Regions from separate parts of the Homo sapiens genome. Here regions 1, 3 and 4 are each linked to region 2. The links are contacts of gene promoters, found by promoter capture Hi-C in human tissues and cell types (Jung and others, 2019). All regions are on one chromosome and are shown on one strand. Each heading gives the region's core, a stretch centred on a gene start or on the middle of the fragment in contact. The rest is flanking DNA. Distances are from core to core; before and after follow the strand shown. Region 1 overlaps TNPO3 (transportin 3). Region 2 holds the start of TSPAN33 (tetraspanin 33). Region 3 overlaps TNPO3 (transportin 3). Region 4 overlaps AHCYL2 (adenosylhomocysteinase like 2).

Region 1 (4,770 bases), core at 987-3,486, 170 kb before region 2:
TGTGTGAGCCCTCCTTCCTGGCAGGAACTCAGCTCCTTTATCCCTTGCTTCCCGCAATACTCTGCGTCACTGCTGGGGATATATCAGCTTGCAATTTACCTTTGGGTTATGAATCATTAATCTACTTACTCCAGTGACTTCATTTTACAAGAATAAAACAACCAAGGGTCAGATGGCAAGACTAAGCAGTGATAGGATGAGCAATTAAGAAATGGGCTCTTCAGAAGGATTTACCTGGTGGCTAGCCGGAACAGGTCATCTACAGTGTCAGGGTGATTCTGGAGACCATTCTGCTGTTCTAGGAGCTGAAAGGTGGGGATGCACAGTGCCTAAAACAAAACAGTGATTTTAAAAGAAATGCTTTTTCAGAAATGCCACAGCATTCAGACTTGCCAAATATTTATTACAATAAGTACAAAAGGAACAAAGAAGAAAAGCACAGCTGGGAAAAGAAAAAGATTGTAATGAGAATCTGATCAGGAAAAGAAACACATAAATCCTTCCCAGTTGACATAAACAGTTTTCACCTATGAAGTCCACATTTAAGAAAGGGTTGAGAAAACAGATTTTAGCTGATAAAACTCAACAGATGTCATCTCAAAGTTTTAGAAATTTCTGAAAGCAAAGATTCTATTTAGGTATAGTCCACTAAGGGAGTGGAAGTTTTTATAATAATTATGAAATATCAATTTTAAATGAAAAGACATCTTGGGAAAAGAAACAACATTCTTCAACTCAATATTCCCCTCTGTGGCTGGAAGGGAGGGAAAAGCAGTATCTGAGGAGCTGTTTCCAATGCTATTATTAATTCTAAAACCCTCCCTGCTGCTAAGTAAACTAGTCAGTTGGCTGTTCCAGGCAAGAAGTTAAAAATACAATAATGCTTGAGCTTAGAGATTCATTTTTCTCACCTCCTCCCCCCTCCAAACACCCTATCTCTGGAAGAGCATAAACCAGGCAGTAACATGTAATAATCATTACACTCATGTGGTCAGTCTCTCATTCTCTCAAACAGGCCTGTTCAGAGAACAACTGGGAAGCTTCCACCTCCCTGTTATTAGGAAATCAACATGCCTGGGGGAAAACATAAAGAAGCAACAGAATTAAAGACATGGTAAAGAATACGCTGCTAGGCCTTCAGACCCTCTAGGCCTGATGCGTCTACACTCCTCATGGAAAAGATACCTGGAGCATGTCTAGCAGTCCCTGCCGACAGCCTTCTTCCATGCCATATTCATCCACAAGGATACTGCCAAGGTACAGGAAGCAGGAATGCTGATGTACGTGGTACACATTCACCATCTGTTGAGGGAAAAAACAATTAGTTCAATGCTTCGTCCTTCAAAAAGTACCAACTTACGAAGCTGTCTCCAGGAAGAAATTCAGAGATAGATTGGCTTCTTCTCTTTAAGGCAACATAGTATAAAGCTTCTTAGCACTATTTTGTGAAACACAGGGCTCAATATCTCAATGATTTTCAGGTTCTCTATTCTTCCAACCCTTTGACCTTTCATCTTCCCAAGACAATGCTGTATAAGAGTTAAAGCTAGAAGCTATCAGGGAACTCATGGATTATTTGCAAAACCCCAGCACAGAATATTTCATCCAGTACGTAAAAGTTGCTCTCATTTGCACTGTAGATAAGTCATACTTTTAAATAGGATATATAGCCACAGTTGGGAAAACAGTATCAAACACCTTCATCTTGGAGAAGACAGTGAAAGCATTGTTTAAATTTTGAGTTGCTCCTAAACCTATTTTATCTTTTAAGTAAAAAATAGTGTTTTCTACGAAGATATTTGGATTTCAACACAGCAAAAATTTTAACACAATATGCACATTATTATTTTTTTTTTAAGAGACTGGGTTTCGCTCTGTTGCCCAGGCTGGAGTGCAGTGGTGAGATCTTGGCTCACTGTGGCCTCAACCTACCAGGCTCAAGGGATCCTCCCACCTCAGCCTCCCGAGCAGCTGGGACTATAGGTGTGCACCACCATGCCCGGCCACGATATGCGCTTAAATGATTTGTTTAGAATTTTTACTCCACTATCCTCCCAGAATTAAGAAACAATTGTACACTCACCTATTTAAAATGCCACCACAGTACATATGTATTGATCTTATTACATAAATTCAACTCTATGAACTTGGGACTGAAAGGATACAGTAACTTAATTCTTCTGTTGGCATATGCCATGGAATGAGCATGAGATGGGAGCTATGAATCCATTCCATGTTGTAAACTCAAAATTATATGCTCTACTAAGGAATGATTAAGTCAAGGGTTGCCAAACATTTTCTTAAAGGGCTACTTTGTAAAAAGTATAGATCTTATCCACCATTCAGTCTTCTGCCCACTCAAGTTTGCCAGTGTAGCACAAAAATGACCAATAGATAATACGTAAATGAATTATGGCTATAGCTCAGTAAAACATTAAAAAAAACACAAAAACAAAAATAGGTGGCAAGGCCACTGACTATCAATTGCTGGCTCCTGAGTTAAGGGATTTTTTAAGGATAATTTTCATTTTTGTCACATGTACTGACTCTAGAACACACTTCCTATATAATAGTGCTACCTACTCTATTGGGTTAGTCATATACTTAACTGGCAGGAATTAAAAAACAGTATCAAAGTCATGAGGGTATCCTCCAACAGCAAAGGGGCAGTCTATCAAGTTGTAGTAGACCCAGAATGTATTGCACTGAAGGGGACACTTGACCAGAGGTGGCAATCGCCTAAATGCGAACATACATTATTGTGCTCAGCATATAGTGAAAGTAGAGAAATCACTAAAAATTAAAATTCTGTTGAAATATTTACCTGTACAATCTTTAATCAAATCTATAATTTAGAGAGGCAAGGTTATCCAAGTACCAACACCGCACCAGCATGCCTGTGCCTGTGGTTGAGGGCACCTATGATGCAGAATTTAAGGGGGAACTCATTCTTTTTTTCTTTTTTCTTTTTTTTTTTTTTTGAGATGGAGTTTCACTCTGTCACCCAGGCTGGAGTGCAGTGGCACGATCTCAGCTCACTGCAACCTCCACCCTCCGGGTTCAAATGATTCTCCTTCCTCAGCCTCATGAATAGCTGGGACTACAGGCGCCTGCCACTGCGCCTGGCTAATTTTTTGTATTTTTAGTAGAGATGGGGTTTCACCATCTTGGCCAGGCTGGTCTTGAACTCCTGACCTCGTGATCCACCCACCTCGGCCTCCCAAAGTGCTGGGATTACAGGCGTGAGGCACTGCACCTGGCCAGGGGGAACTCATTCTTAAGGCCAGGACCTCCTTAAAATCTGCACCCTAGGTGCTCTCCTCTCCCTAGGTGGAGCATGGTCACTTCAGGTTGGGTGGGGTATGACTCTAGCCTGGAGCTCTGTGACTGTTTTCCTCACAGCATGGGTACAAAATTTCAGAAAGCACCTCAGAGTCCTGCAAATGCAGGATTGGCACTTTGCCTTGTGTCCCTAAATCTTGTGCCCTAGGCACTGGCATCCTGGCCCTGCTCTAAGGTTAACATCAACACAATTACTTAGTGACTTAAGCATAGGCATCTCATACAGTTCTAGATGAGAATATGATTTTAGAGAACATCATTTAGTGAGTCATACCATCATAATTACATATCAATCTTAATGACTAAAAGAGTCAAATTTATTTTTTGACAAGAGACTTCTGTGGACAACTAACTGTGGCCAAGATTGAAGAAAATCCCTTTGGGCAAAGAAACAGCAAAGTCTGACTTGCTACATTTTTTCCCCAAGGATCTCAATATAAAAATGCTTACCATTAGTATATAAGTACTGAGCCCAAGTCATTCGCTTCACAGAATTTCACAATGGACTGTGTTGCTACTTAGAATACTGCTATAGCTACTATACAGAAGCGATTTTAGGCTGTTTCCCTTATAGACAATGTACCTATCACAGGCACTAATCTCTTTCAAGTGTTTTTTTAGTTTGTTAATAAATACAAAAGTGTTTCATTTCATCAGCAAAGTTTTTGTTCTAAAGGCTCCTATTTCAAATTCTTTTTTTGAGATGGAGTCTTGCTCTGTCACCCTGGCTGGAGTGCAGTGCAGCTCCTGGGTTCAAGCGATTCTCCTGCCTCAGCCTCCCGAGTAGCTAGGATTATAGGTGCCCGCCACCATGCCTGGCTAATTTTTGTATTTTTAGTAGAGACAGGGTTTCACCATGTTGGCCAGGCTGGTCTTGAACTCCTGACCTCAGGTGGTCCACCTGCATAGGCCTCCCAAAGTGCTGGGATTACAGACGTGAGCCACCGCACCCTGCCTATTTCAAATTCTGTACATGGAACACGTCCCCCCGCAACAGATAACTTTACCTGTGTGACTAGTGGCTGCAGCAGTGCTGCAGATCCTTTGCCTACACAGCGAACAGCAAAGCGCAGGCACCTGCAACAACGCTCTACAATCCGATTATCAGCTCGGTGCTTATTTAGAGTCTCGGATAAAACTGGCCATATCTGGGTCAAAAGTAAAAGAGCACAAGAAAGAAAATAATCAACAACTAGGACCTGAAAAACTGCTAAGTTGGTAACACCTCATTTAGCTTTTAAATAACTGGGACAAAACTTTCTGTATAGGAACACACATGGCCAGCATGCTCAGGTTCAATAGACTACCCACCACAAAACCCTATCACTTAACAAGAGAAAACAGTGCCTCTTTAGAACTGGAAGAGCATGTCTAACTTTGCTAAATGACAGAGATACACAATTTCCTAAACTTCAGACTTCCCGAAAG
Region 2 (4,345 bases), core at 1-2,500:
TCTGATATTCAATTACTTCCGCAGTTTTAACACAATTCCACATGTAACGGCATCGGTCAGCATTATGTCCCACTGCTATTCCAAGCATACCCTGTGCTCCAGCCACAGCAGTCTGCTTATTTTGCACGAAACACATGGCGTGCTTTTGCACCTCCAGGCTTTGGTTCACCCCCTTTTTTTTTAATCCACCTGGATTATGTTTCCCCTCCGTCTCTACTATTCTAAATCCCATCCTCCCCTAATTTCACTTGCCACGCTATCTTCACTAACCTTCTACCAAACGTATTATAATTATTTGTGCGGTTATCATATTTCCACACTGGATTCTTAATTCTGCTAAAACGAAATACTGTAATGCCTTTGATGAGCCTTCCATGTGCCAGCCATGTGCTAAGTGAGCTACATGCATTATCTCATTTAATCCTCAAATCGCCATCTAGGTCAGGACTCTCCCATTTAACATTAAACAAACTGAGGCTCCGAGAGATTAAGTAGCTTGCAGCTTTCACGCAGCTAATTATGGTGGAATCAGATTCCCTCCCCGAGGTTCAACTTGTATTAGTTAGGGTAGCCAGCATAATATATTCGCCAGCTACGCTGCACTCAACCTGTGTGTGCCGGATCAGCATGTTAAAAACGGTGTCTGCAAGTAGACCAAGGGAAGAGGGGCTGCGGGGGCGGGAATTGAGACAGCAATGAATTAGGATGGCGGGATTGGCGGTGATGTTTCCAAATTTCCACTGTTGGGTTGTAGAGCTTCTGAAATAAGCATTTAAAATGTATAGTTACTAAACAAGATTGCATCTACCCTTGGTCTAATTGTTATGTGTAGGTTAGTTTTGTCTCCCTGATTTTATTGTCATCCCCCAGGGATTGTTTCTGTTCTCCCGCGTTCCCAGAGCTTTCGGCGCATTGCTCAACACACGGTGTGCGTACTTGTTGATTTTAATGTATGTGTGTTTGCATATGTGCACAGCAGCTGGGCGGAGGACGTGGGTGTGGGATGCACTGTGCATTCCTTCTCCTCACTCTTGTTCCTTTGAGCAGCTGCAGCCTGGATGCTTTCCCTTAGGGGTAGGGGAGAGGCAGAACCGCTGACCCTTTAACAAGTTATCCCTCACAGAACAGGTGTCTCCCCCGACTCTCGGTGGAGAGGGATGGCTGGATACTTAGTGACATCAGCCACGAGCCAATGGGAAGTCGGGCTCCAGCCGTCGCGCCAATGAGCGGCCGGGGGCGGGCCGGGTTTCCTGGGCGCCTGGCTGGCCGGGCTGGTCCTGCGGCCGCGGGTGAGTCTCGTCCGCTCGCGCTGCCCACCGCGGCTCCAGCAGCTCCAGGCGCGGTTCCCCGGCCCGCGCCGCTCCCGGCCCCCCGGCTCGGGCGCCTCCCGCCGCAGCGCAGGCTCCCCCGCCGGCCGGGCTCCTGCGCGGCGCGGCTCGGCTCATGCCCCCGGGCGCGGGGCACACAGGCCGGCCGGCAGCCGCTGGGAAATAGGCCCCCGGGGGCGGTGGCGGCGGCGGGGCCATGGCGCGGAGACCCCGGGCGCCGGCCGCCTCCGGGGAGGAGTTCTCCTTCGTCAGCCCGCTGGTGAAATACCTGCTCTTCTTCTTCAACATGCTCTTCTGGGTGAGTCTCGGGGTCGAGGGCACCTGGGCGGCGGGGTCCCCCCGCGGGGTGGAAGGGTGGCCCGGGGTGCCCCACGCGCGGGAGCCGCACTGCCGAGTTTTCTGGGCTGACGGCACTTTGGGGGAATTTATCCTGGGGAGGGACACCCCGGGGACGCCGCGTCTGCAGGGGGCGTTGTAGGGAGGAGGGTATGCCAGGGAATCAGTAAAGACTGATGGGTATTCTCGGGGCGTCGGAGGAGGGTCTGTGTTAGGCTAGAAATGTGGGTTTGAGGGAGCCTGTTGGCCCAAGGCGGACCCACTGACACATTCATGATGGGGGTCGGGGGTGGCGGCTGACTTTCAGGCCTGGGGGCCTGGAGGCCCGGCTGGCAAAGAAAGAAGAGGAAGGAAAAACCCAAACCTCTCTCTCCACCACCTCAGAGAGGATGGGTTACTGGCATCATCTCTTCCTTTTGCAGGCCTCATCTACCCCCACCTCCACCCCCCCAAAGTCTAGGAAGAATGGCCTCCAGGTGCAGATGTCTTTCCCATCCCAGCACTGCCCCAAACTTTGTCCCCTCCCTGCCACCCTTCTCAGGACCAGACTTCACCCCTGGAGCCTGGCAATCACCAGTGTCTTTAAACAGGACCCCGTGTTGGGCCGGAGGGCCAGGGGTCCTTTCAGAATCTTCTGCTTGGGGTGGAAAAAGTATTGGGCTGGGACTCCGGACACCTGGATTCCCATCCCACTCTGCCGTTCATTGTTGACTTGACCGACCTAAGCATGTATGTTCATGTCTGCAGGCCTTGACTCCCTCCCCCACAAATCCAACCCAGTGTGATCAGGGGTGGCAGAAAGACTGCTGAAGCTGAGAATTGAGCTGAACCAGATCATGCAATGCCAGCTCGACCCTGTTTCCTGGCTAGAGAGTCCTGGAGGTCCTGGGGTGTGAGAACATAGGGACATCCTTCCCCCATTCACCTCCTCTTCTGGCTCCTACCACACCAGAGCTGCTGCTTCTGGAGCCCACCATCCTTGCCCACTTCAGCTGGAGACCTAAAGTTCAGACTTGCAGGAGGGAAGAATTGAGTCTAAAATATGTTTCCTAGGGGAGGGAGCAGAACAGACATCTAAGCCATTTGCTGGAAAGGTTTCACAGGGCCCGTGGGGTGAGGTGCAGACACAAAGCCCATAAGTGCTGGCCTGTTGGGACAAATGAGAGAAATCCCATAGGGTGGTGATGACAGCGCACTCAGCCATCCTACTCCTGGGGAAAATGAAACTTGTGCTCCTATCAAATGCTCAGTTGTAAAACTGGAAAAAAATTTTAGAAGACATCTTGTCCAGCATCTGTGTTTATGTCTATAAAATGTAGAAAACTAAAGCACAGAGATGTTAAATGTTTTGTCCAAGGTCCAACAGCTGGTTAGCAGGCTTGGTCTGGTGACCTTTCTACTGAACCACAGTGCCGCTGGGGGAAGTCCTCAGCACAGATGGCTGCTGCTATAGCTGGGGTATGGGCAGTATTAGTAGTTAACCAGTCAACCCAAGTTCCCATAGTCTAGGTTCTGCTTCAGCTGGAGGTTAGGGAAAAACACAAGAAAATCCCTTACCACTCTACCAGTGCTGGGGGATGTACTAAGAGACTCCCCACTTAGGGGCAAGTATCAGTGAAGTCTCTGTGCTCACTGAGTGTGCCAGGCCAGTGACGTGACATCCTCGGAGCCAGCACTAGCATTTCAGGGACTTTAGGTCGTCACTCTGACTTCCTTTATCTGCCGAGACTGTCTCCCTTGGAGCCATTGGTACCTCACCCTTGTCTGTGCTCGCCAGTGACAACAGCTGGGTGCATCTGTTACACTTGTGTTCCTGGTCATTTTTTTTTTCTCGAGCTTCCCTACCCCCTACCTCCACCCTACCCCCCTTTTATCGGACAAACGACTTTGAGAGATCTCAGCCAGGAGAGAGTTTGGCTCCACAGACCCATTTACCTTGGTAAAAATGCTTCATTCAAGGTCAGAAGACGTGGGTGGCCAAGCTAGCACCACCCCAAATTAGAATAGAGCCCCTTCTTGGCCCTACAGTAGACTCATAAAAAATCAGAGGCTCTAGAAATAGCACACTGAAAGACAAGAGGCTCAGCATCTTTTTGGCACCAACTTACTGTGTGACCCTAAGCCAATGTATCTGTCTCTCTGACCTTAATCTTTCTCCTCTAAAGGAGAAACAATTTCTGCCTCAGTGAACTATTTAAGGATGAATGAATCATTTTGGGGACTGTTTTCTTTCTTCAAGACCTAGAGCTGGATCTAAGGATGAATCTCCCTGTGTCCTGATTGCCCTTCCTAGGGGACAGTACTTTTCAGGTGTTATTGAATGTCCCTTCTCCCCCAAACCCAGTGCTGCACAGGTATATTCATACAAGAGCAGCTGGAGAGAAAATGCTGCCTCCCCAGATCAGGGGGCCATCTTTCTTCCTAGCTCCTCTTCAGGGACTGGTTCCCATGCTTTCTTTTTTGTAGACTTCCACCATCCTAATCAAATTCTGCTCTTCTGCCCAGGAAGCACCTATGGATGAGATGATGGTCAGCCCACACCCTTTGCAGGCAGAGTGCATGCTCTGGCCGGCTTCTGGAGCTGCCGCATGGCAGTGGTTATTGTGTCTGTGCCTGGAACCCACTAGGAAGGTGTCCGGCATCCTCTGGGCTCTGAATAGTGGTGCTGGTGGTGATGGTGG
Region 3 (4,819 bases), core at 1,193-3,692, 130 kb before region 2:
GCTCTATATCTACAAAAAAAAAAAATTGTATAGAATTAAGCCCTTCAGAAAATTATCTGAGTGCCCATCTTCTTAATTATCCTAAGGGCGGTATATAGCTAGAACCATTATTAATGTAGAGGAAAGAATTCATTACATATAACGAATAGCTTTAGGCTTAATTCTCTTGAGGAACCCCTACTGAGAAGGGCTGTTTTAGATACAACTTCCAATTAGAGGAAATACAGAGAAAAGAAAAACATGCTAAAGGAAACGAAGGAGAGGCAATCAGAAAATCATAAAGGTAAGATAATTCTATAAAATGACTGGTACAATCTCTTCAACAAGTCATGTTATTTTAAACAAGGAACAGAATGTGGGACTGTGACTAAGAACCTGATACAAGGCATAGTTACAGATTGGATATTCTTTGTAAAAAGTATCTTTTTTTGTTTTTTCTTTTTGTTGAGATGGAGTCTCACTCTGTCGCTCAGGCTGGAGTGCAGTGGTGCCATCTCGGCCCACTGCAACCTCTGCCTCCCGGGTTCAAGCAATTCTCCTGCCTTGGCCTCCCGAGTAGCTGGGACTACAGCTGCATGCCACCACGCCCAGCTAATTTTTGTGTTTTTAGTAGAGACGGGGTTTCACCATGTTGGCCAGGATGGTCTCGAGCTCCTGACCTTGTGATCTGCCAGCCTTGGCCTCCCAAAGTGCTGGGATTACAGGCATGAGCCACCACGCCCAGCCTGTAAAGAATATCTTAGGACCAACTGGTGAAATGTGAATATGGTCTGGGTTTATCAGATGATATGAAAACTTACTAACTTGAAAAGGTAAGCAGATGACTGAAAAAGCAAGATGCAGAAGAATAAGTAAAGTATAACTTCATTTGGGCTTAAAAAATCTGTATATATATCCATAAATATGTTCATAGAGGATATGTATTAAAGGGTTAACTGTATGATCTCCAGATGGTTTGAGTGAAATTTGCTGTACATATTTTCTAATTTTCCATAAAACTATTTCTTTAAAATAAATGGCTAAGTGAAAAACATATATTTAACTTAAAAGAATTATTTTTCAATGAATTTCTTTTTTCTTTTTCTTTCTTTTTTTTTTTTTTTTTTTTGAGATGGAGTCTCCCTCTGTTGCCCAGACTGGAGTGCAGTGGTGCAATCTTGGCTCACTGCAACCTCCGCCTCCCAGGTTCAAGAGATTCTCCTGCCTCAGCCTCCCGACTAGCTGGGACTACAGGAGTGCACCACCATACCTGGCTAATTTTTGTATTTTTAGTACAGACAGGGTTTCACTATGTTGGCCAGGCTGGTCTCAAACTCCTGACCTCAAGTAATCCACCCGCCTCAGCCTCCCAAAGTGCTGGGATTACAGGGGTGAGCCACTGCACCCAGCCCTCCAATGAATTTCTAATACAAAACTGAACACAATTTTTAATAGAATTTTAATTTTTTTTCAAACTAAAAGATCTATGAACTTGCTATACTGAAACACATCTCTGAAAAATAATTTACTACAGGTTAAGTATCCCTAATCCAAAACTCCAAAATGCTCCAAAATCCAAAACTTTTTGAGTGCCAACATAACGCTCAAAGGGAATGCTCACTGGAGCATTTCAGATTAGGAATGCTGAACCACAAAGTATAATGCAAATATTCCAAAATTTTAAAAACTCAGAAATCCTAAATACTACTTTTTTTACCCTACCCTAAACCCTTCTGGTCCCAAGCCTTTCAGTAAGGGATATTCAACCTGTATCCACATTATTGAGAAAATTAAGCTGGACTATAAAGACTTAAAAATGAGATATGGGCTAATCAATTTATTAGCATCTACTTTAGGAACCAGTAAACATTTTCTATAAAGAACCAGATAAACCGTCTACACTTTGCAAGCCATATGGTCTCTGAAAAATACTCAATTATGCTGATGTAGACCAAAATAATGGACAAAATATAACCAAATGGGCATAACTGTGTTCCAACAAAGCTTTATTTACAAAAAGAGGCAGCCAACCCATAAACTATAGATTTACACACTCCTGCTCTAGAGTATTAAAAATGTCAACTAACTGAAAGGAGCTTAATCACATCTAATTTTTTAAAAAATGTGTATTAGCTCATCCATAATGCGATACTCCTCAAAGGTCAAGTAAAATCTTCTATCACCTTTCAGTTCATCTTTAAGAGACAATCCTTTCTTTTATCTCTCATAATATACAAAAATCAAATCAAAATGGATTAAAGACTTAAATGTAAGATGTGAACTATAAAACTACTACAAGCAAACATTAGGGAAATGCTGCAGGACATTGATCTGGGCAAAGATCTCTTAAGTAAGACCTCAAAATCAAAGGCAACTAAAGCAAAAAAAGTCGACAAAGGTCAAGCTAAAAGGCTTCTGCACAGCAAAAGAAACAATCAACCAAGTAAAGAGACAACCTACAGAATGGGAGGAAATATTTGCAAACTACCCATCCAACAAGAGATTAGTAACCACAATATATAAGAAACCCAAATAATAGCAAAAAAAAAAAAAAATTAAAAATTAAAAAATGGGCAAAAGATCAATAGCAAATGCTGGCAAGGATGCAGAGAAAAGGGAACGCTCTGGAATGTAAAGCAGTACAGTCATTATGAAAAACAGTACGGAAGTTTCTCAACAGACTGAAAATAGTACTACCATACGATCTAGCAATCCCACTGCTGGGTAAATACCCAGAAAAGAAACCAGTATATCAAGAAGATCTCTACAATCCCATGTTTATTGCAGCACTATTCACAATAGCCAAGATATGGAATCAACCTAAGTACCTATCAACGGCTGAATGGATAAAGAAACAATGGTATAGGTGCACAATGAAATATTCGTTAGCCACAAAAAGAATAAAATCTCCTGTCATTTGCAGCAACATGGACGGCACTGTTAGACATTATGTTAAGTGAAGTAAGCCAGGCACAGAAAGACAAATATCACATGCTTTCACTGCTATGTTGGAGTGAAAAAAAATGGATCTCATAGAGGTAAAGAGTAGAATGACGGTGATCAGAGGCTAGGAAGGGTAACGGGGAGGGGACGACCAAGAAAGGTTGATTAACGGGTACACAAATACAGCTGAATAGAAAGGATACGTTATAGTGTTACACAGCAAAACAGAGTGACTATAGTTAATAATTTATTGAGTACTTCAAAATAGCTGAAAGAGAAGATTTAGAATGTTCCCTACACAAAGAAATGATAAAGGTTTGAGGTGATGGATATCTCAATTTGATCATCACCTGATTTGATCTGATCATCACATATTACATACTTGGACAAAAATAATACATGTCACTGGGCACAGTGGCTCACGCCTGTAATCCCAGCACTTCGGGAGGCCAAGGCAGGTGGATCACTTGAGGTCAGGAGTTCGAGGCCAGCCTAGGCAACATGGAGAGACACCATCTCTACAAAAAATAAAAAATTTAGCTGGGCATGGTGGCGCACACCTGTAGTCCCAGCTACTCAGGAGGCTGAGGTGAGAGGATCACTTGAGCCCAGGAGGAGGAGGGTGCAGTAAGCTGAGATCATGCCACTGCACTACAGCCTAGGAGACAGAGACCCTGCTTCAAAAAATAAAAGTAATACATGTAACCCCATAAATATGTACAACTATCATGTATCAATTAGAAAAAAAAAGAAAGGATCCTTTCTTAGTAAAGTAGATTTATACACACTTCCCTTTGCATGATCCTTTATTAACAGCCAACAGTTTGGAGCATTAAGCAGTAGAAGAGCACAAGATAAATAATGAGATGGCCTTAGTTCCAATTCTGAATTAACAGTTGTGTAACTCTAAAGTCCATTTTTCATTCATAAAAGAGATAACGTCACCTTTAGAGGATTATACAGAAACTTAAAAAGCATAGTTTCTGAAAGTATGTTGTCATGGTAAGGTGTTACATAAATACCAAAGCATCATCATTAAATTTTGCAAAGAAAGCTATTTCACAATAATGCAATTGATTACAAAATAACCGCCATGGCTTTCTGCCTTTATGCAGCAACTTAGTATTTCAAACTTACTCACCAATAGAGATACTACTGTACTAGAGTAGAAGGCCAAATCTTCTATAATTTCTGTGCGCCGATTAGCTCCAATTCGTAAGGAACGACTATGTACTTCTTCAGGTAACACTGTAAGGATCTCCAGCAAAAAAGGCAAAGAAGTCACATCATTGCTGTATCTGCAAAAGAAAAAAGTGGAGATATGTTATTTATAGCCAGAAAATACACAATCACATAAGATAACAGCCATCAGAGTAACTCACAACAACAAAAGCAACATTCCCACCACTGTTAAGGGGGAGAAAAAAGATACAAACATAAATGTCCTCCATAATTAGTTAAGATTAAAAAAAGGACACAGTTATTCAATGAAACATAGCCATTATAATGAACATGATATCTATATGTCCTAACATGAAAAAAAGTCCATAATGTAGTAAGTGAAAAACATGTATGAAACATATTGAATATGGGTGAACAAATATATAGGTATATGTACATTAAAATATATATGCACTTATTTATTTTAAAATGCATAAAGGAAACTCTACATAGCCAATTGTTAATAGTGGTTGCTTATAAAATACAGGGTTAAGGGCCAGTTGTGGTGGCTCATGCTTATGATCCCAGCACTTTGGGAGGCCAAGGCAGGAGGATCACGAGTCCACAAGTTCGAGACCAGCCTGGGCATCACAGGGAGACCGTTTCTACATTCAAAATTTTTTAATCAGCCAGGCATGGTGGTATGCATCTGTAATCCCAGCTACTCGGGAGACTG
Region 4 (4,139 bases), core at 971-3,470, 140 kb after region 2:
GTTAGTTTTTTTGTTTGTTTGTTTGTTTTGTTTTGTTTTGAGACAGGGTTTCACTCTCATCACCCAGGCTGGAGTGCAGTGGCATGCGCTTAGCTCACTACAACCTCCACCTCCTGGGCTCAAGTGATCCTCCTGCCTCAGCCTCCCGAGTAGCTGGGACCACAGGCACATGCCAGTGTGCCTGGCTAATTGTTTGTATTTTTAGTAGAGATGGGTTTCACCATGTTGGCCAGCCTGGTCTCCAACTCCTGACCTCAAGTGATCCACCTGCCTTGGCCTCCCAGAGTGCTGGGATTACAGGGGTGAGCCACCACTTCCAGCTCCTTTACACTCTTAAAAATTAAGGATCCCAAAGAGTTTTTGTCTCTGTGGGTTATATCTATATCAATACTTACAATGTTAGGAATTAAACCTGATAATTTAAAAATATTGATTGATTGATTGATTTAAAATAGCTATAAACCCGCCATGTGTTATTTATTTTAAATGGAGACATTTAATAATATTTAAATATTAATAAATTGAAAATAATAATCCCACTATATGTTAACATAAATAATATTTTCATGAAAAGTAACTACATTTTCTAAAACAAAGACATTTAATGGGAAGAAAAGCATTGTTTTATATTCCTGCCATCTCTTTGATGGCCAAATTCATAAAAAACTGTTGGATTCTCGTATCTGCTTTTGCCTTATCTGATGTGTTGCCACACATCTTGTATCCTCTGGAAAACTCCACTGTACACTTATAAAATAATAAGAGTAAAAAGAACAAATATAATCTTAGGGTTATCATGAAAATACTTTTAACCTCAAGCACCCCCTCCAGGGATACCTCAAGTAGTTTCTGGACCATATTTTGAGACCACTGTTCCCAAACTGTTTATGTGTGAGAAAAGAGAAACACAAGAGTTATCACCATTACTTCTACAGCAGATTTTTCCTTGTGTTTAATCAGTACTGGCTGTTTAGCCTAATTAAGCAGTATAACATCCAGACTCCAGAATTGAAGTGGGTGGTATAGCTGAAAACTCCAAGCACTGTACCGGGAGTAAGTCTCAGTTTAATGTGCTTTTTAAAAGTAGTTGTTGTTCAGTGTTTTTGTAGGCTATTGCTAACCAGTGGGAGAGGAAAGTTAAGGCAGCTCTCTGGGAAAGAAAAACCAAGGAATTTTAGAGATTAAAAATGACCTTTAAAGATAATCTGGTCATCGAATTTTAGACTATTGGATTTGAAAGTCAGATGCTGAGAGGTCATCTAATCCAACCCTTAAGCTTTTTAGTGATTATAATTAGTACTTGTGATACACAGGCTAAGTTCTTTATGTAGAGCTCCTTCTCCCCACGTCATTTTGATGTTTACTGTTTCTTTTGAATGTTTTTTATAATGGAAAATGTCGATCATGTACTCCATTACTCACCTTCAACAATTGTGAATTCATGGCCACTTGTTTCACATATAGCCCTGTCCACACCATCCACTCCCTGGATTATTGGATGCAAATTGAAGAATTTTATAGCTTCACCTGTAAACATATCACTATATCTCTAAAGATAAAGACCTTAAATAACTTCAATTCCATTATCATGCTAAAAAATTAGCAATAATTTTTAATAGCATAAAAACCCAATGTTCACATTTCCCTCATTGTGTTATTCATAAATGTATATTTTTTCAGTATGTTTGAATCAGGATACAAATGAGTATCATATAGTGCAGTTTATTGATTTGTCTCTTAACATTAGTCCTCTCTTCTCCCCTGCTTTTTGTTTTGCAGTTTTTTGTTGTAGAAATCAAGTCATTTGTGTTGGCAGAATTTCCCTGAGTCTGAATTTTGCTGATTACATCTCTGTGGTGTCTTTTAACGTGTTCCTTTGTCTTCTGCAACTCCTGTAAATTTGTATTTGTATTTATTTTAATTTAATTTTATTTTATTTTATTGAGACAGAGTCTCGCATCACTCAGGCTGGAGTGCAGTGGCGTGATCTCGGCTCACTGCACCCTCCACCTTCTGGGTTCAAGCGATTCTCCTCCTCAGCCTCCTGAATAGCTGGGATTACAGAGGCCCGCCACCACGCCTGGCTAATTCTTGTGTTTTTAGTAGAGACAGGGTCTCATCATATTGGCCAGGCTGGTCTCGAACTCCTGACCTCAAGTGATCTGCCTGCCTCAGCCTCCCAAAGTGCTGGGATTACAGGCGTGAGCCACTGCGCCTGGCAGTACTTCTATTTAGAAGAGTGCTCAGACTTCTTCATGAGTGGTGTTAAGTACTTCCATCAGAAGGTACATAAATGTCTGCATGTCTTTTTTGTTTTAAAATTTTATCTATTTATTATTATTATTTTTGAGACAAGGCCTTGTTCTGTCACCCAGGCTGGAGGTGCAGTAGCATGATCATAGCTCACTGCAGCTTCAACCTCCTGGGCTCAATTGATCTTCCCACCTCAGCTTCCTGAGTAGCTGCGACTGCAGGCATGCACCACCACGCCTGGCTAATTTTTGTTTGTTTGTTTGTTTATTTTGTAGAGATAGAGTTTTACCGTGTTGCCCAGGCTGGTCCTGAACTCCTGGGCTCAAGCCATCTGCCAGCCTTCGTCTTCCAAAGTGCTGGGATTACAGGTATAAGCCACCACAACGGGCCTATTTTAATTTTTATTTTACTTTTTTGAGTCAGGGTCTTGCTGTGTCACCCAGGCTGGAGTGCAGTGGCACAATTACAGCTCACTGCAGCCTCAACCTCCTGGGCTCAAGTGATCCTCCTGCCTCAGCCTGCCTAATAGCTAGGAGCACAGGTGTGTGCCACAATGCCTAGCTAATTTTTAAATTTTTTTTGTAGAGATGGGATCTCACTATGTTGCCTAGGCTCGTCTTGAACTCCTGGGTTCAAGCAGTCCTCTTGCCTTGGCCTCTCCGAGTGTTGAGATTGCGGGCGCAAGCCACCTCGTCCAACCTGTCTCTTTTTGTGTGATGTTAGTAACTATTGATGATTTTTACTTAGATCCATTAAATCATTAAGAGCTATACAATGATGATATTCTAGTTCTATTATTCTTTCATTTATTAGCTGGAATACTTCTATAAAGAGAAACCTCCCCTTTTCTAATCTTCGATTTACCCAGTGGTATAATACATATTGGAAAGTCAGGATGAATATTTTGTTCTTTCCCCTTGTTTACCAATTTTCAGAATACTGTATTGGTTCACTAGCATTCTCCAATTAGGCATTGGTTTTGGTGGGGGTTTTTTTGGTATCATAAACTCTTGGGTTTAAACATTTTTGAATATGTTTCAATTCATTGCATTTTTTTCCTTTTCTAGTGATTTTACTGATATATTTCTTCTTTCTTTCTTTTTTTTTTTGAGACGGAGTCTTGCTCTGTTGCCCAGGCTGGAGTGCAGTGGTGCAATCTCAGCTAACTGCAACCTCCGCCTCTAGGGTTCAAGTGATTCTCCTGCCTCAGTCTCCTGAGTAGCTGGGATTACAGCCATGCACCACCTCGCCCAACTAATTTTGTATTTTTAGTAGAGATGGGGTTTCTCCATGTTGGTCAGGCTGGTCTCGAACTCTTGACCTCAGGTGATCCTCCCGCCTCGGCCTCCCAAAGTACTAGGATTACAGGCACCATGCCCAGTGGCATATATATTTCTTCTAATAAACTCAGCTTGATGATGAGGACGTGTCTTAGACATCTTTCTGTCCATGGTGCCTAGTGCGTGGCTTTCAATAAATGTCAAATGAATGAGTTGATATTCTGAGCAGCATTTAAAAATAAGAGCTAGTGGCTGGGCACGGTGGCTCATGCCTGTAATCCCAGCACTTTGGGAGGCCAAGGCGGGCGGATCACGAGGTCAGGAGATGAGACCATTCTGGCCAACATGGTGAAACCCTGTCTCTACTAAAAATACAAAAATTAGCCGGGAGTGGTGGTGGGTGCCTTTAGTCCCAGCTACTCGGGAGGCTGAGGCAGGAGAATGGTATGAACCCGGGAGGCGGAGCTTGCAGTGAGCTGAGATTGCGCCACTGCACTCCAGCCTGGGCGACAGAGTGAGACTCTGTCTCAAAAAAAAAAAAAAAAAGTTTTGGAGGCATGACAGAGGAGCAAAGTCCAGTATTACTTTCCTGTGTGAGCTGAAGAA

What was found. The method cuts DNA at HindIII sites, captures the fragments that hold promoters and counts their contacts. A contact is called where the count stands out against the background at its distance.
Region 1: a contact is called between a fragment that was not itself captured here and the fragment with the promoter of TSPAN33 in region 2, in 2 of the 25 tissues and cell types used here (bladder and lymphoblastoid cells).
Region 3: a contact is called between a fragment that was not itself captured here and the fragment with the promoter of TSPAN33 in region 2, in 1 of the 25 tissues and cell types used here (lymphoblastoid cells).
Region 4: a fragment that was not itself captured here is called in contact with the fragment with the promoter of TSPAN33 in region 2 in 1 of the 25 tissues and cell types used here (mesenchymal stem cells).

Annotation. Positions count from the first base shown.
Region 1 is chr7:128,974,634-128,979,403 of GRCh38, forward strand. TNPO3 (transportin 3) reads right to left here. Exons shown (of 23, transcript NM_012470.4): 16 at 4,350-4,490; 17 at 1,186-1,302; 18 at 235-329. Among named protein-coding and RNA genes, the nearest start is that of IRF5, 39 kb to the left of the region's middle. The HindIII fragment of the contact is 5,983 bases long and covers 1-4,770 here.
Region 2 is chr7:129,143,457-129,147,801 of GRCh38, forward strand. TSPAN33 (tetraspanin 33) reads left to right here and starts at 1,251. Exons shown (of 8, transcript NM_178562.5): 1 at 1,251-1,626. The coding sequence starts at 1,525. RefSeq lists a silencer at 1,164-1,373 and an enhancer at 4,236-4,285. The HindIII fragment of the contact is 23,252 bases long and covers 1-4,345 here.
Region 3 is chr7:129,010,916-129,015,734 of GRCh38, forward strand. It overlaps TNPO3 (transportin 3), which reads right to left. Exons shown (of 23, transcript NM_012470.4): 4 at 4,064-4,220. Among named protein-coding and RNA genes, the nearest start is that of TNPO3, 42 kb to the right of the region's middle. The HindIII fragment of the contact is 4,735 bases long and covers 76-4,810 here.
Region 4 is chr7:129,286,439-129,290,577 of GRCh38, forward strand. The region is part of intron 1 of AHCYL2 (adenosylhomocysteinase like 2); the gene reads left to right. Among named protein-coding and RNA genes, the nearest start is that of AHCYL2, 63 kb to the left of the region's middle. The HindIII fragment of the contact is 6,345 bases long and covers 1-4,139 here.